Regions from separate parts of the Homo sapiens genome. Here all the other regions are linked to region 3. The links are contacts of gene promoters, found by promoter capture Hi-C in human tissues and cell types (Jung and others, 2019). All regions are on one chromosome and are shown on one strand. The core of a region is centred on a gene start or on the middle of the fragment in contact, and the rest is flanking DNA. Distances in the headings are between cores, read along the strand shown.

Evidence for each region. The method cuts DNA at HindIII sites, captures the fragments that hold promoters and counts their contacts. A contact is called where the count stands out against the background at its distance.
Region 1: a fragment that was not itself captured here is called in contact with the fragment with the promoter of SCGB3A1 in region 3 in 1 of the 25 tissues and cell types used here (H1 embryonic stem cells).
Region 2: a fragment that was not itself captured here is called in contact with the fragment with the promoter of SCGB3A1 in region 3 in 1 of the 25 tissues and cell types used here (mesendoderm cells).

The regions. Positions count from the first base shown.
Region 1 is chr5:180,201,329-180,204,902 of GRCh38, reverse strand. All of the region lies in intron 1 of RASGEF1C (RasGEF domain family member 1C), which reads left to right. Among named protein-coding and RNA genes, the nearest start is that of RASGEF1C, 6.1 kb to the left of the region's middle. The HindIII fragment of the contact is 5,165 bases long and covers 1-3,574 here.
Region 2 is chr5:180,307,319-180,310,672 of GRCh38, reverse strand. The region is part of intron 15 of GFPT2 (glutamine-fructose-6-phosphate transaminase 2); the gene reads left to right. Among named protein-coding and RNA genes, the nearest start is that of MAPK9, 17 kb to the right of the region's middle. The HindIII fragment of the contact is 6,492 bases long and covers 1-3,354 here.
Region 3 is chr5:180,589,452-180,593,065 of GRCh38, reverse strand. SCGB3A1 (secretoglobin family 3A member 1) reads left to right here and starts at 1,567. Exons shown (of 3, transcript NM_052863.3): 1 at 1,567-1,655; 2 at 2,228-2,466; 3 at 2,812-2,961. The coding sequence starts at 1,604. The coding sequence ends at 2,835. RefSeq lists enhancers at 1,366-2,035, 2,036-2,705, 2,706-3,375. The HindIII fragment of the contact is 36,128 bases long and covers 1-3,614 here.

The sequences.
Region 1 (3,574 bases), core at 344-2,843, 390 kb after region 3:
TTAGTCATATCTTTGATTCTGTTAGTCATTCTGTCATCTACAAATTCAAATAGCTTTACTGCTTCTCTACTGATTTTTATGCTTTCTTTTATCTAATTAAATTGGCTGAATACCTCCAATTCAGTATTAAATATTGGATGTGGTGGGCCTCCTTACCTTGTTCCTGACCTTAGTAAAAAGGCCTCTAATACTTCCCCTATTAAGAAAGATGCTGACTTTAGGATGGGAAGAGATAGATAGATGAGATAGATAGATAGATAGATAGATAGATAGATAGATAGATAGAGGAATATCCATTGACTCCTATTTTATTGGCAGTTTTAAAAATCAGGATTGGTGTTGACCTTTGTTAGAGCCATGTATGTAGATAATGATCTGATATTTCTCCTGATTACTAGTAGCATAATGAGTCATGTGATGGATTTCCCAATATCAGGTCTGGGACTAGGCTGAGGTAAACAGACACAAAACGTATGAATATTAACACTAGGCCATCTTTGCATTTCTGAAATAAGTCCCACTTGGACATGATGTAGAAAATAGTTTGGCAGTTTCTTTAAAATTTAAACATAAAAATACCATATGACCCAACAGTCCCACTCCCAGGAATCTAAGAGAAATGAAAACAATGAAATGTCCACACAAAGACTTGTACACAAATGCTCATAACAGCATTGCTTATAATGGCCAGAAAAGTAGAGACAACGCAGTTGTTCATCAACTGGTGAATAAATAAACAAGATATATATCCGTACGATGGAATATAGTTTAGCAATTACAGTTGGCCCTTGAACAATGAGAAGGTTAGGGATGCTGACCCCCACACAGTCAAAAAGCTATGTATAACTTTTGTCTTCCCCCAGATTTCACTTTGTTGTTGTTGTTGTTGTTGTTTGTTTGTTTGTTTTTTGAGACAGAGTCTCACTCTGTCGCCCAGGCTAGAGTGCAGTGGCATGATCTCGGCTCACTCCAACCTCTGCCTCCCAGGTTCAAGCGACTCTCCTGCCTCAGCCTCCCAAGTGGCTGGGATTACAGGCGTGCACCACCATGCCCGGTTAAGTTATATTTTTGGTAGAGATGGGGTTTCATCATGTTGGCCAGGCTGGTCTCGAACTCCTGGCCTCAAGTGATCCTCCCACCTTGGCTTCCCAAAGTGCTGGGATTACAGGCGTGAGCCACCGCGCCCAGCCTGTAGTATGTTTCAATATCATTGTATTAGTTATCTATTGCTGTGTACTAAGTTATCATTGACCTAGTGGCTTAAAGCAACGCATGGCTTATTAGCTCATCATTTCTGTGAATCAAGAGCCTGGGCATGGCTTAGCTGAGTACTGCTGGTGGCCAGCACTAGGTTCTCATGTAGAGACTCAGCTAGGGAAGGATTTGCTTCTCCACTCATGTGGTTGTTGGCAGTATTTAGTTCTTTGTAGTTATATTTAGAGCTTAAAATTTTGGCTGGATGTTGGCTGGAGGCCAACCTCAACTTGTTAGGGTCACCCCCAGTTCCTCGGGACTACCCACAGGTCTTTGTCACATGGGCTTCCCCAGCATGACTGCTTACTCTATCAAGCCAGCAAAGAGTCCCTAGAGAGTCATAACATAACAAAACATAACATAGTATAACGTGACATACATGATATAACAACGTAACATAATCCCAGTAGTGATATCCTATCATCTTTGCCATAGTCTGTTGGTCAGAGGAAAGTCAAAAGCCCCACCCAGTCCCAAATGTATGAACACCAAGAGGTAGAGCTCATGCCGGTGAGCACCATAGAAACTGCCTGTTGGATGTTGGATTCTGATTACTAATATTTATTTTTGCCAAAGTTTTCCCAGTCACCCTTTGACTGGACAAAGCTTAGCTTCTGTTGGTTCCTTAAGAAAGACTTGTGAGTACTGGCCAGGCGCGGTGGCTCACACCTGTCATCCCAGCACTTTGGGAGGCCGAGGCGGGTGCATCACGAGGTCAGGAGATCGAGACCATCCTGGCTAACACGGTGAAACCCCGTCTCTACTAAAAATACAAAAAATTAGCCCGGCGTGGTGGCGGGCACCTGTAATCCCAGCTAGTCGGGAGGCTGAGGCAGGAGAATGGCGTGAACCCGGGAGGCGGAGCTTGCAGTGAGCCGAGATTGTGCCACTGCACTCCAGCCTGGGCGACAGCGAGACTCCGTCTCAAAAAAAAAAAAAAAAGAAAGACTTGTGAGTACTGTTATTTCCTGCTTGCTTGCTTTCTATACTCTTGCTACTTGAAGGATAGATTGGCAGGTTATAAAATCCTTGCCTCTTACTTTCTGTCCCTAAATTTTTAAAAATGTTGTTATGGGTTGTATTGCTTGTACATTGTTGACAAGATGTCTGATATAAACATGCCTTTCTTTCCTTTGTAAGTGACTTGATTGTTTTTCTGGAGCTCCAAAGAATTTTTTTTCTTTATTTTTAAAGTTTAATCATTTTACTAGGCATTCTCTTGGAAATGATCTTAGGTACGTGGGGGACTCTTTGAATATGCATATTTAAGTCTTCTTTTATTTCTAAAACATTTTCTTAGATTATAGTGTTAAATATTATGTACCATTATTTTACCTTTTTTCTTCAGAGATGCCAATAATATGTTTGTGTTAGATCTGTTTTTCATCTGTATTCTAGATTGCTTTCTCTATGAATTTTATTTTTGTTTTATGGTTGTTTTCATTAATTTCCTTAATGAACACTATTAAGCTTTTAGTCAAATCTGTTCTCCCTAAGAGATTTTCTAATTCAGTCTTCATTTCTGAGATGATGGTCTTTTCCTCATTTTTTTTCATGAGTTCAGGCAACTCTAATTTCACATTTACCTTTTTTTGGGTCCATTTCTGTTGAGTTTTTGAATGTATAATGTAGGGATTTTCTTCATGTGTCTGAATTTTTAGTGTGTCTTCATCTGTTCATCTGTATCAGAAACTGGGTTAGTTTACAAACAACAGAACGATTTCTCACAGTTCTGGAGGCTGGAGGTACAAGATCAAGGTATTTGGTGAGGGCCGCATCCTGGTTCGCAGATGGCTCCTCTCCTCACGCCCTCACATGGAGGAAGGGACAAGGGAGCTCTCTGGATCCTCTTTTCTAAGGGCACTAATCTCATTGATGAGGGCTCTGCCCTCGAGACCTAATCTCGTCACAAAGGCCCCCGCCCCCAAATGCCATCACACTGGGGACTACGTTTCCATTATAAATTTTGGGGGACGTAAACTTCCAGACCATAGCATTAGGTAATTCAAGTTGAGGTGTTGCGTGTGGTTTTTCCCTTTGTAAATTGGGGGTTTGTGGGAAGGATTAGTGTCGGCTCTTTATACTGGCTTTGTATGGATATTATCTGTTAACTTAGAGATGTCTTAATTTGCCTGGACTGGTGGTAACAGATGGCTGCAGGCAGGAGCTGGGGGCTTGGGAACCGTAGTAGGTTTCTTAGTGTAAGAGCGCCCTCTCCTGTTGTTGTTATGAAGTGCACCATTTTCTTGTGCTTTGGGAGGCGGGAGTGGACTTGTGTTTTCTGAGTTTACAATATTCACTTTTGCTTCCGTAGGTCCTT
Region 2 (3,354 bases), core at 703-3,202, 280 kb after region 3:
TTGGGAGGCTGAAGTGGGCGGATCACCTGCGGTCAGGAGTTCGAGACCATCCTGGTCAACATGGTGAAACCCCATCTCTACTAAAAACACAAAAAGCAGCTGGATGTGGTGGCAGGTGCCTGTAATCCCAGCTACTCGGGAGGCTGAGGCAGGAAAATCACTTGAACCCAGGAGGCAGAGGTTGCAGTGAGCCAAGATTCTGCCACTGCACTCCAGCCTGGGCAACAGAGTGAGACTCCATCTCAAAAAACAAAAAAGAATGGCCTTGATGGTGAGGCGCAGTGGCTCACGCCTGTAATCTCAGTACTTTGGGAGGCCGAGGTGGGCAGATCGCCTGAGGTCAGGAGTTCGAGACCAGCCTGGCCAACATGGTGAAACCCCATCTCTACTAAAAATACAAAAATTAGCTGGGCGTGCTAGTGGGTGCCTGTAATCCCAGCTACTTGGGAGGCTGAGGCAGGAGAATTGCTTGAACCCAGGAGGCGGAGATTGCAGTGAGCCGAGATTGTGCCATTGTACTCCAGCCTGGGCGACAAGAGCGAGACTTCATCTCAAAAAGAAAAGGCTGGGCACGGTGGCTCATGCCTGTCATCCTAGCACTTTGGGAGGTCGAGGCAGGCAGATCATGAGGTCAGGAGATCGAGACCATCCTGGCTAACATGGTGAAACCCCGTCTCTACTAAAAATACAAAAAATTAGCCGGGCGTGGTGGTGGGCACCTGTAGTCCCAGCTACTCGGGGGGCTGAGGCAGAAGAATGGCGTGAACCTGGGAGGCAGAGTTTGCAGTGAGCCGAGATCGCACCACTGCACTCCAGCCTGGGTGACAGAGTGATACTCCATCTCAAAAAAAAAAAAGGAATGGCCTTGATGAGGTGGTAAAAATTATTAGTCTGTAAATTGCAACTCTTTGTAATATCCTTTATGATGAAATGGGGAGTACACGTAGCGCCTTTCTACTGGGGCCAGGCGTGGTGGCTCATGCCTGTAATCCCAGCACTTTGGGAGGCCAAGGCGAGCGGATCACCTGAGGTCAGGAGTTCGAGACCAGCCTGACCAACGCAGTGAAACCCCATCTCTACTAAAAATAGCTGGGTGTGGTGGTGTGCGCCTTTAATCCCAGCTACTTGGGAGGCTGAGTCAGGAGAATCACTTGAACCTGGGAAGCAGAGGTTGCAATGAGCTGAGATCACGCCGTTGCACTCCAGTCTGGGCAACAAGAGCAAAACTCCGTCTGGAAAAAGAGAAAAAGCCTTTCTGCTCTACACTGAAGTGTGATGCTTGTCTCAAGAGAAGCAGCCATCCCATTGAGTAGCAAGCTGATTTTGGTGTTTGTTAGACATTTTCTCAAAATGAAAAATCAGCTGACGCATCAGTAGAAGCAACCCATGGTATTTGTTGCCAATGATAAACTTTAAGCTCCCAGGCAAAACTTTTGAGTGTTAGAAAACACCTCTGTTACCATGAGCTTGACCAGTTCCTAACATTTAAAGACTTCTCTAGGGCCGGGCACGGTGGCTGATGCCTGTAATCCCAGCACTTTGGGAGGCCGAGGTGGGTGGATCATGAGGTCAGGAGTTCAAGACCAGCCTATCCAAGATGGTGAAACCCCATCTCTACTAAAAATATTTAAAAAATTTAGCTGGGTGCAGTGGCAGGCACCTGTAATCCCAGCTACTCAGGAGGCTGAGGCAGGAGAATCACTTGAACCCGGGTGGCCGAGGTTACAGTGAGCCGAGATCGTGCCACTGCACCCCAGGTTGGGTGACAGAGTGAGACTCTGTCTCAAAAAAAAAAAAAAGTCTTCTCTGATGAGATCAAGGTGACTTCAACAAGGTGATTTTTAAAGAACATTTTATAATAAAAGTGTCCATTTTAAGAAGATTTACATACCTTTGTGGCCAGTTCACGATGTCACAGAGTTATGCACTTGTAAATGATCCATTTAAAAGCACAAGACAGAAAAATAAATTTTAACCTAACAAAGTAGAAAAAGTTTATTGATAGGATTTCAGATTCTATATTGGCACCTACCCTTTCAAGAACCTACTGTTTCTCAAGTTTGATGTACTGTGGTGTCAAAGAACAATATTCACAATTATTTGTAAAATAATTTAAATACTCCTCGCTTTTCCAACTACAAATCTGTATTTGTAGGCTGAATTTTATTTTTATACTTCAACCAAAAGAGCTTATCACCACAGATTGAATGTGAAAGCAGATATTAGAGTCAACAGTCTTTTATTAAAAAGGCAGACACTAAAAAGATTTGCAAGAACAAAAAGCAGTGCCATTCTTCTCACTAATTCTTGTTGGAAATGAAGTAATGTAATAGATTTAGTGTTGTTATTTTAAAGTGAATATTTTTAAATTTCTCATTGTTAGTTTCTTTCTTTCTTTTTCTTCTTTTTTTTTTTTCGAGATGGAGTCTCGCTCTGTTGCCCAGGCTGGAGTGCCGTGGTGCCATCTCAGCTCACTGCAAGCTCCGCCTCCCAGGTTCACGCCACTCTCCTGCCTCAGCCTCCCGAGTAGCTGGGACTACAGGCGCCCGCCACCATGCCCGGCTAATTTTTTGTATTTTTAGTAGATACCAGGTCTCACCATGTTAGCCAGGATGGTCTCGATCTCCTGACCTCGTGATCCGCCTGCCCCAGCCTTCCAAAGTGCTGGGATTACAGGCGTGAGCCACCGCACCCAACCACGCCCGGCTAATTTTTTGTATTTTTAGTAGAGACGGGGTTTTACCATGTTAGCCAGGATGGTCTCGATCTCCTGACCTCATGATCCACCCGCCTCGGCCTCCCAAAGTGCGGCGATTACAGGCGTGAGCCACCACGCCTGGTCCTCAGTGTTATTTTCTAATCTGGTAAATGTTGACAGATTTAACTCAAAAACAAAGGCTCTTGGGGATGTGCAATAATTTGAGGGACTTGCAATAATTTTCAAGAGTGTAAAGGAGTCCTGAGACCAAAGGGTTTGAGAACCGGTGGTCCCACTTACAGGGGCCTTGTCTTGAGACACAGCAGGAAAGAGGGGTGTTAACTGGTGGTGTCAGCTCTGTCTCCAGTGGGTGATTTTTGCCTCTCTGAGCCTCAGTTGTCTTACCTGCAAAACGGAGTGAGAAATGGTACTTCCTACCTTGTTGGTGCTCAAGAAAGTGTTCACACAACACGAATCCCCATCCTAACAGAATCCTGGCCAGGAGCCCAAGTTATTTCCTGTAATCTACGTTTGAAACGAATGCGAGGAAGCAAAGTGTGCTAAGTGATGCGGTTTCAAAAGCTCCTCTTAAACCCCAGCATTTGTCTTCATGAATATTGCTTTAAAGTCGGCCTGACTGGTTTTCTCCCTCTGCT
Region 3 (3,614 bases), core at 318-2,817:
AGGCTGAGGCAAGAGTATCACTTGAGGCTAAGAGTTCAAGACCAGTCTGGGCAACACAGTGAGACTTTGTCTCTACAAAAAATAAACAAAATTAGCTGGACATAGTGGTGCACACCTATAGCCCCACCTGCTTGGGAGGCTGAGGTGGGAGAATTGCTTGAGCCTGGGAGGTGGAGGCTGCAGTGAACCAAGATCACCTCACTACACTCCAGCCTGGGCGACAGAGTGAGACTGTCTCAAAAAACAAACAAACAAAAAACAAAATCAAAATCCGCTGAGTGTGGTGGCTCACACCTCTAGTCCCAGCTACTTGGGAGTCTGAGGTGGGAGGATTGCTTGAGCTCAGGAGTTCGAGACCAGCCTGGGCAACACGGCAAGACAGTGTCTTTACCACCACCAAAAAAGTAATTAACTTCAAACTGTTTTTAAAAAAGAAAACGTATTTCCCATTAAAATTACTTCCATGATGACCAACAAAACACAACCAAACTCCAGATTTATAATGCAAAAATCCCCCAAACAAAATAGTCAAGGAAAAGTGTAAGTGAACAGAAACAGTGTGAATGCGTGTGCCTGGCCACAACAGTTGGCAAAGGCACAAGTGTCTGCAGGTGCGGAGGAGGCCGCAGTAGCTCGGGGTGGCTGAGGGCTAAGACGTGCTGTCAGCCATAGGGAAGGAATTCCAGGACACTGCCTGAAGAGTCAGGTCCTCCCACCCGGGAGCCTGTTTCCCACGCGTGCCAGCTACACTTTACAAAAGAAAAGAGAGACTTTGCACCAACCTAGCTGAGAGCAGCCACGCAGCAAAACGTGAGTCACTCAGTGCTCAATGCCTGGGGTCAAAAAATAGAGGAAAGAAGAAGGACTAAAAGCAAATTAGTTTATGTATCATTTGCAAAAGTTTTCAAAATGTGCTTTGCTCTCCATCTGTCATACTTCTGCAGGTGACAGACGAGTGAGGACATTTAGAGAAACTCAGGAACAAACCAGGCCCATCCACTGGCGTCGAGGCTAGTTTCGAAGACAGAAAAACGCCCCACTTCTGTTTGCACTGTGGCTGCCTGTGGCCCGGCCGGGGAGGCGGCCGGGAGTGAGGCCTGATCGTCCCTGGCGCCTCCACCTCCCCAGGCGCAGAAGGCGCCCACGAGGACCCCCAGTGCCCGACGTTGCCACGGTCTGGGATCAGAGGCAGGGACCAGGGAGCCAGGAACTGCGCCGCCCCCGCCCCTGCCCTGGCGCGAGGGAAGCTCCCCTCACCCGGGCCCAGCCCTGCAGGGGGGCGCGTGGGGTCAGACCGCAAAGCGAAGGTGCGGGCCGGGGTGGGCCTCGCGGAGACAAAGGCCGGGCCTGCCTGCTCTCAGAGGGCCCCAGCGCCTGCCAAGAGGAAGTCCTCGAGGCCCGGGCAGGGAAGGGGGCACGGGCTTCCCAGGGCCCGCCGGCCGCAGCAGGAAGTTGGCCAGGGCACGGCCGTGAGCGGAGCGGGCAGGGCTTTCTCAGGAGCGCGGGCGAGGCCGGCGCTGGAGGGGCGAGGACCGGGTATAAGAAGCCTCGTGGCCTTGCCCGGGCAGCCGCAGGTTCCCCGCGCGCCCCGAGCCCCCGCGCCATGAAGCTCGCCGCCCTCCTGGGGCTCTGCGTGGCCCTGTCCTGCAGCTCCGGTGAGCGCCCCGGGCTCCTGGCGCGCACGGTGGGGCCTGAGGCCTCGGCGCCCGCTGCGCCCCCGCCGCTGCCTGCGCCGATCGTGGATCCCAGGTCCTTCCAGCCTCGCCCGGCGCCCAGAGGGCTCCGCCACCCCGGGGCCCCGCGCCTGCAGCCCGCGGCCTCCCCCTCTCAGGGCTGTCTCCAGCCTCGTGCCGGGATGGAGGCCGCCCCTGGCCTGGGGACACCCGTCTGCCCCCCGTCTGGAGACCGGCTCCTCATCCTGCAAGGCGCAGCGCGAGTGTCCCCTCCCTTGGGGGCCTGTCCCGGACCCTGCACAGAGTTCACCGGTCCTTCCGCCACCCTCAGGCCACTCCGGTGACCCTGCAGCGTCTCCTGGCGGGGCCGCCTCCCCAGACCCGCCTGTGTCCCGGGGGCTCGCACCTGGCAGGCCTCGGCGCAGGAGGGAGGGGCGGTCGGGGAGCCGGGCAGGGCGCGACGGTTCCTGGGCGCCTCCCGCGGGGGCGCGTCCTGGACCTGCCTTCTGGGGACCCCGGCGCGCAGGCGGTGACCCCTCCCTGTTCGCTTGCAGCTGCTGCTTTCTTAGTGGGCTCGGCCAAGCCTGTGGCCCAGCCTGTCGCTGCGCTGGAGTCGGCGGCGGAGGCCGGGGCCGGGACCCTGGCCAACCCCCTCGGCACCCTCAACCCGCTGAAGCTCCTGCTGAGCAGCCTGGGCATCCCCGTGAACCACCTCATAGAGGGCTCCCAGAAGTGTGTGGCTGAGCTGGGTCCCCAGGCCGTGGGGGCCGTGAAGGCCCTGAAGGCCCTGCTGGTAAAGTGGGCACCCCGGGTGCCCTTCCTGCGCGGGCATCCCTTCCCGGCCAGCCTCAAAACTGCACCAGAGGTGTCCCGGCCCTACGTCAGGGCTGTTTCCCGTCCTGCCCCTCCAAGCCCTGTCCCTGGGAGAAGCCCGGGTCTCCGGGTGGGAACTGGGTGGGGCGCATCCGAGCTGCAGGGGCGGGGAAGGCGGAGATGGCCCCGCGCGGGTGCGCGTCCCCCGGAGACGCCAGCGGAACCGCCCCGCTCCCGCTCCCCACAGAGCCGGCCGCTGCCGCGCCCCCGCCTGAGTTCTTGGTGGCAGGGCTGGGGGCACTCAAGCTCGGCTTCTGCTTTCCAGGGGGCCCTGACAGTGTTTGGCTGAGCCGAGACTGGAGCATCTACACCTGAGGACAAGACGCTGCCCACCCGCGAGGGCTGAAAACCCCGCCGCGGGGAGGACCGTCCATCCCCTTCCCCCGGCCCCTCTCAATAAACGTGGTTAAGAGCAGCTCGAGCCTGGTATTTTCTCATCCAAATGCTGATCCCTGTGGGGGACCGAGAGTGCCAAGTCCCAGATTTTGTGAGGGGTGCTGCGTGAGAGAGGGAGAGAGAGGCCGCGAGAGTCTGCAGGTGGCATAGAGCCAGCAGTGCAAGGTGACAGAGATGGGGCCAGTATCAGAGGTAAACCGGATTTGGAAACAAAACTGGCAGGTCTTTCTTCCTGTTGTGCTCTGTAACTGTTTATGAAGCATAAAAATTATCTACTCCTTGAAGACTGGCGAGAATGCAAACGCACCAAAGCCATTTGTTGCTAAAATTTGAAAGTTTTTATTTTTTCCCTCTATACTTGTAGATTTCTTCCTCGGAATGGGGGAGGAATGAGGGCTTCAGGAAATCCGCTGTTGGGCTTGTTTTCCCTGCAGTTTCTGCTGGTTTTGTCCAAATAACCTAGTGACTTTGATTCCTTCTACTCTAGCGGAGAGACCACCTTTTGTCAACTGATCTAGTGTTGGTGGGAAGGTGCCCAGGGAACCCAGACATCGGTGTCCCTTTCAGGGGAAGCCTCCCAGTTGACTTCCTTGCTGGGATGAATAACTCTGCCTCAGGTGGCTTGAGCAGGTCTTCCCCCCATCATGAATATCCACACGAGATTTTAAAAAT